Linked DNA regions of Homo sapiens: region 2 is linked to region 1. Evidence: promoter capture Hi-C in human tissues and cell types (Jung and others, 2019). All regions are on one chromosome and are shown on one strand. The core of a region is centred on a gene start or on the middle of the fragment in contact, and the rest is flanking DNA. Distances in the headings are between cores, read along the strand shown.

The links. The method cuts DNA at HindIII sites, captures the fragments that hold promoters and counts their contacts. A contact is called where the count stands out against the background at its distance.
Region 2: a fragment that was not itself captured here is called in contact with the fragment with the promoter of SYT10 in region 1 in 1 of the 25 tissues and cell types used here (H1 embryonic stem cells).

The regions. Positions count from the first base shown.
Region 1 is chr12:33,437,883-33,441,411 of GRCh38, reverse strand. SYT10 (synaptotagmin 10) reads left to right here and starts at 1,593. Exons shown (of 7, transcript NM_198992.4): 1 at 1,593-2,040. The coding sequence starts at 1,890. RefSeq lists an enhancer at 1,866-2,682. The HindIII fragment of the contact is 9,708 bases long and covers 1-3,529 here.
Region 2 is chr12:32,940,329-32,943,857 of GRCh38, reverse strand. No RefSeq gene overlaps it. Among named protein-coding and RNA genes, the nearest start is that of PKP2, 45 kb to the right of the region's middle. The HindIII fragment of the contact is 6,625 bases long and covers 1-3,529 here.

The sequences.
Region 1 (3,529 bases), core at 344-2,843:
AGGCTGTTTTCTACCGGTCTGTCTGTGTAGACTGTAGCAGAATGGGGGGCAAAAGGCAATTGGAAAGGGCCTTATTAAAGTGTGTTATTTAGTTTTGTGCATACAGTAGATGTTTAATATTTTTTGATTGACAGTGAAATTATTTCTTTAGACAATTTGACTTAAAAACCACCCAAGTCAGTGTGCATAAAGACAAAAACCAAATGAAGCCTGCAGATTTTAGTTTGTCTTAATTCGTGGTAAAAATAGTCCTAGTTAAACCAATCGTCCTATGGATCAGGTCAAAATGATTCAACTAATGAATGCTTCCCTACTGGAGTGCTATGCCTAATATTTATACTAGGTTTACCATAGTCCTGTGCAAAGCAAATAATTTACCATGAACTGATTAGCTGTTTTTAAAAAAGACTACTTATTCTACTAGCATAGACACGCTAACAAGTTCAATGTATCCCACTTCAAAAATAAAGAATCCCTCATCACAAGAGGGTTAAATCAATCCTCAGGTTATGATATGGGATCAAACTCTGCCCGAAAACAGTTTAAAAACCATATAAACATATTATATCCTGAAGCCCATGTTTATTATTTTGTCGCTTTAGTTCTACTGATTTGCACCCATTTGCATTAAAGAATTATAAAAACAGGTGAGCTTAAGACATCCGAGTCCAAATCTCCCATTTTACAGACTCAGGCAAAGACCCGAAAGCAGGCCGGCCGTGGTGGCTAGTGCCAGCATTTTGGGAAGCTAAGGCGGTAGGATTGATTGAGCCCAGGAGTTCGAGACCAGCCAGGGCACCATAGTGAGATCCTTGTCTTTACAATAAGTTTAAAAAAAAAAAATAGCGCCTGGAGTCCCTGGAGTCCTAGCTACTAGGGAGGCTGAAGTAGGAGGATCGCCAAGACCTGAAAACAACTTCAAGGTTAGGCTGAGATGTGTGACAGATTTGAACTTAATCCTGTTCCCTTTAACACCCATGTCTTGTTTTAAGTCGCTAAGAAAGGAGATGGAGGGAGTCAAGTTGTGCATTCTCAATCGCCAATTACGGATTAATCGACAGAATCTTATCTGATTATTAGTACAAATAACATTTTATTTTGTGATCTACCTAAGAGGGTTTGCTTATTCACGCATTCTTTTTTCTAATTAACTTTTTCAGTTTTTCTTCGATTGGGATGACTTTTCCAGAAGGGCAGAAGCAGATAGCACAGAAAGTAGAATACATCCGTGGAAAAGTTGGAGAGACAAAGGCGGCGGGGATGGCTGCACTGATGCAGGGAAAAGTATTGGGAAAACGGAGAGGGCTCCTCGGGCCAACTCTGGGCAACGATGAGCATCCCCGGCCTCGGCAGGGGCGCCGGGCCGCCCGCCCTCCCTCCCTCCCTCCCTCGCGAGTCCCTTCTTCAGAGGACGCGGGGAGCCGGGTCTGCGCGCTCCGCCGCCTGTCACCTAGCGCCCGCGCCGGGCTGCGATTGGACGCGTCGCCGCCAGGCACCCGCCAGAAACACCAGTGCGCTGGGGAGAGGAGGGGGGCGTGCTTGCGAGTCGAGGGCTTGCTTTGGCTTTTTTACGGCTCCCCCCTCCCCTCAGCACTCCATGCCGGGTCTCTAGTTCCAGCGCGCCTCGGCTCGCTCGCGCGGCGGGAGAGTTGGCGCAAACCTCGCGGCAGCCGCAGCCTCCTCGCGCGCCTCTCCTTCCCCTACGCCCTCCGCTCCCGCCATGGGGCCAACGTGGGGCTCCTAAGAGTTGCCGGCTCTCAGCGGCGCAATCTCCAGCCAAAGTCACCGCGGGCGGACTATGGCTTAGGGCGCCAGAGGGGTTAGAGGTACGGGAAGAGGAAAAGACGGCTAACTGGGAAAAAAAGAGAAAACGAAAGAAAAGCCAAACGATGAGTTTCCACAAGGAGGACGGAGTGAACAGTCTGTGCCAGAAGGCTCTGCACATCGTCACCGAGCTGTGCTTCGCCGGCCAGGTGGAGTGGGAGAAGTGCTCGGGCATCTTCCCTCGGGACAGGGGCAGCCAGGGCGGAAGCAGCACAGGTAACCGGGAGGGCTCCGCTCGCGTCCTCGCGCTCCGCTGGGACCCCGCGCGCTAGGCTGCAAGCTCCGGGGTTCTGCGCCTCCCGCGCCGCTCCCGCGGCATATTTGGGGCGCCACGCTTTCCTACCTCGCTCCTTCCTTCGCTCAGCTCCTGACGACTTCGAGGGTGGGGCGTTTGGGTTTTGTTTCCTCCTGTCCACCTGCCGGGCTTCTCCCATTCTCTGGTCCGCTTCCCGCCTCCCGGCGCCGTCTCCCGCTCCCAGCCTCGCCGCGCCTCTCCGCGTTCTCCCACGCCTCCCATCTCCCTCCCGGAGTGGAGAAGTGAGTGCGGGCGGTGACGGCGCCGGGACGGCTCGCGGCTTGGCTGCTTGTGGGGGCGGCTCACCTGTGGGACTAGGGCTGCTCTCGCTCGTTCCACCGGCCGCTGGTCCCGGCCTTGTTGATGGGGGCCAGGCGGGACGGACAAGCCATGCTTGGACGCAGAACTCCCTTGCAGAGGTGGCTGCCTTGGCCTCCGAGGTAACCCGCGGCTGCAACCTGTCGGGCACCTGACAATTTCTAAAGCCCTTTTAATATATATGATTTTCTAGGGTTTCATGACAAAGTTGGTAAAACAAGGATTATTGATCCCATTTGTGAGGCGACACCTAAAGCTCAGAGCACATATCGAAGAAGTGGAAGAGAGGGGAGACGTTTAAAATCCCTAGCACACGCACGCTCTCAGACATCCAACTCACAGACGTCCTCCCTACCCTTCAGGAAACTAGGAAATGGGCTGGATGCAGGAGGATATCGACCGTCGGAAATCTGGAGATGGAAAAAAGTCTCAAGTGGATTTTCCTCAAGGCTTGGGGGTGGAAAGGATCGAATCCAAGCCACTGTTTGGGTCACGGTTGGGGAAAAGGTTGGTGTGTCCAGCCTGCTGTGCTCCTCGGGCGCACGCGAGGTGGATCCCCGAGTTGCGGGCTGCGTGGTTTCAAGAGCCGCTTGAGAGGGTCACTTGTTGCACTAGGAGTCAAAAAACACTGCTTTGGGGATTTTCGACTGGAAGGTTGCCATTCCTTCTCTAGGTTCTTTCCCTTTGCTTTTCCTGTCATTTTGATCTCCTGGCGGGATTTTAAGAGTTGAAGGTAGTCAGGGCAACAAGAGCTGGACAGCCAAGCTCAGGACAACATGGAGCCCTGCGTGCTGGGAGGGAGCAAAGCGGGGCACACTTAGTGAATCCTCTCCACCACCACCCCTGCGTCAAAGCCAAGCGGGGAGTGGGAATGGGTTTAGTTTAGCTTTTACATTCCATCGTTCACATGGGTAGCTGCAGGGTTTGGTATTCTCTGATCCACGGCAACGTGAGCCAAGGGGGCTCTGTCTGCACTTGGCAGAGCTTGAAGATATGCCGCTGCTTGGACCCTGGATAGGGAAACTTTAAAATTTTCTCAGTGTATAAACACAACTGAGAATCATTTCCATTCGTTCAGTAGGTGTTAAATTC
Region 2 (3,529 bases), core at 575-3,074, 500 kb after region 1:
GCTTTGTTGCCCAGGCTGGAGTACAGTGCTGTGATCATGGCTCACTGGCAGCCTCACTCCCCCTGGGCACAAGCAATCCTCCAGCCTCGGCCTCCTGAGTAGCTGAAACTACAGGCACATGCCACCATGCCCAGCTACTTTTGTTGTTGTTGCCCAAGCTAGTATCAAACTCCTGGGCTCAAGCGATCCTCCCACCTCAGCCTCCTGAAGTGCTGTGATTACGGGAAAGAACCACTGTGCATGGCCAAGTAAATTTTTTATTTGAGAAAGTTACTTAACCCCTCTCTGGGCCTCACTTTCTTCATGTGAAAAACAGGACTGATAATAGTCCCTAAATCCTACAGTGGTTGTGAAGAGTCAATAAACTGAAATGCAGAGTACCTGGAGTATGGTAAATTACTCAATACATTTCATGTCTTGTCATTACTGGTTTTCCTTTATGAGGCACTTACGAATGTGTGCCTCATTTCAATGTAATGAGATGACAAGTAATTCAATTATTTTTTATCAAAAAATGTATGCACACTAAGACTTTAACTATTCAAGACTTAGCTGCCTATCCCTTTCCACTGGACATGGATATTCTTTTAAGAAATCTCCTGGCCAGGCACAGTGGTTCGTGACTGTAATCCCAACACTTCTGGAGTCTGAGGCAGGAGGGTCACTTGAGCCCAGGAGTTCAAGACCAGTCTGGCAGGCTGGGCAACATAGCAGACATCATCTCTAAAAAAAAATTTTTTTTTTTTTTTTTGAGATGGAGTCTTGCTCTGTCGCCTGGGCTGGAGTGCAGGGGCGCCACCTTGGCTCACTGCAAGATCCACCTCCTGGGTTCACACCATTCTCCTGCCTCAGCCTCCCAAGTAGCTGGGACTACGGGCACCTGCCACTATGCCCAACTTTTTTTTTTCTTTTTTGTATTTTTAGTAGAGACGGGGTTTCACCGTGTTAGCCAGAATGGTCTCAATCTCCTGACCTCGTGATCTGCCCACCTCGGCCCCCCAAAGTGCTGGGATTACAGGCGTGAGCCACTGCGCTGGACCAAATGTTTTTTGTTTGTTTGTTTTTTTAACTAGACAAGCATGGCGGCACATGCCTGTAGCCATTTAAAATGTTTTTTAAAAAGGAAACCTCCTGCCCGGCATGGTGGCTCACTCCTGTAATCCCAGCACTTTAAACAGCGGAGGCAGGTCAGATCACTTGAGGTCAGGAGTTCGAGACCAGCCTGGTCAACATGATGAAACCCCAACTTTACTAAAAATACAAAAATTAGCCGGGCGTGGTGGCATGCGCCTGTAATCCCAGCTATTCGTGAGGCTGATGCAGAATCGCTTGAACCCAGGAGGTGGAGGTTGCAGTCAGCCAATATCGTGCTACTGCACTCCAGCCTAGGCAACAGAGCGAGACTCCATCTCAAAAAAAAAAAAAAAAAAGGAAACCTCCTGATGGTGATTATTAAAGGTAAAATAAAATCTACCAATTGATAAACAAGCATCATGTGGCCTGTGGACTATCATTTAATATAGGTCCTAACCAGTCTCCATTGCCAGCCTACAAATTAAAGAATTAAAGGCCCTAATGATAGTCCATTTTAAAATTATGATGAATGGAAAATAGATTATTCTCTAAAAGAAATTTTGAGATAGAGAGGAAGAAACTTGCCTATTGTCACATGAGAAAATATTGTTAAGTCCAGCATTCTGCTAATGCCCATGTCTAGAAAATGTAATTCCTTTTCAATGATTCCTAGACAGGGATTCTGGGAATAATGTCATAACAGATTACACTGTATATTCACTGACTATTATATACTTCATTACCAATAGCACCCCTAGAATATAGACTGTAAATTAGAGGCCTTGTCTGTCTTATTCTCCACATGTTATCCTGCCTATAATATTGCCTAACCCATAGTAAGAACTCAGTTGCAGAAATCAATGTACACTTAGCTTACCACCAGATTTATTTCCAATGCTGAAACACTTATTCATTTATTTATTTATTTATTTTTAATTTTATTTATTTATTCATTTGAGACAGGGTCTCACTCCGTCACCCAGGCTGGAGTACAGTGGCACAGTCACAGCCCACTGCAGCCTCGACCTCCTGGGCTCAGGTAATCTTCCCACCTCAGCCTCCTGAGTAGCTGGGGCCACAGGCAGGCACCATCACGCCTGGCTAATTTTTGTATGTTTAGTAGAGACGGGTTTCACCAAGTTGCCCAGGCTGGTCTCAAACTCCTGGACTCACGTGATCTTCCCACCTCAGCCTCCCAAAGTGCGGGGATTACAGGCGTGAGCCACCGCACCCAGCAAAATACATATTTAAAAGAATTATGGGCCGGGTGCGGTGGCTCATGCCTGTAATCCCAGCACTTTGGGAGGCCGAGGCGGGCAGATCACCTGAGGTCGGGAGTTTGAGGCCAGCCTGACCAACATGGAGAAACCCTGTCTCTACTAAAAATACAAAATTAGCCGAGCGTGGTGGCACATCCCTGTAATCCCAGCTACTAGGGAGGCTGAGGCAGGAGAATCACTTGAACCTGGGAGGCGGAGGTTGCAGTGAGCCCAGATCATGCCATTGCACTCCAGCCTGAGCAACAAGAGCAAAACCCTGTCTCAGGAAAGAAAAAAAAAAAAGAATTACGTCAAGTTGGACACAGTGGTGCATGCCTGTAATCCCACCTGAGAAGGGAGGATCACTTGATCCCAGGAGTTCAAGACCAGTCTGGGCAACAAAGCAAGACCCTGTCTCAAAATTAAAAAAACAAACAAACAAAACAAACAATATCAGCCAGAGGTAAATTGTTAAATAAGCTTTTATAACACTTGAGCCCAGGAGGCAGAGGTTGCAGTGAGCCAAGATCATGCCACTGCCCTCCAGCCTGGGCAACAAAGCCAGACTGTGTCTCAAAAAATAAAAAAGAAAGAAAAAAGAAAGAAAGAGAGAAATACCTGAGACTGGGTAATTTATCTTAAAAAGGGGTTTAATTGGCTCATGGTTCTGCAGGCTTTACAGGAAGCATGGTGCTGGCATCTGTTCAGCTTCTAGGGAGGCCACAGAAAGCTTACAATCATGGCAGAAGGTGCAGGAGGGAGAGCAGGCACATCACATTGGGAAAGCAGGTGCAAGAGAGAGAGAGAGAGTGGAGGGGGAGATGCCACACTTTACAACAACCAGGTCTCCAGAGAACTCACTCTCTATCTCCAAGACAGCACCAAGCCATGAGGGATCCACTCCCATGACCCAAGCACTTCCTTCCCACCAGGCCCCACCTCCAGCACTGGAGATTACAATTCAACATGAGATTTGGGCACGGACAAATATCCAAACTATATCATACATGTTTGACTCTATTCGCAAGATTAAGATTTTCTTACTTTACTAAGTAAGAACTTTACCACCCCTCCATGCTTAATTGGGAACACTTTTTCAGTGTCTAACATAGGCACTAACAGGAATCTAAATTTACATACAAATGGAGTCATCCTATACTATTGCTCTGCAATTTTTTCATTGTGCTTAAAATGAG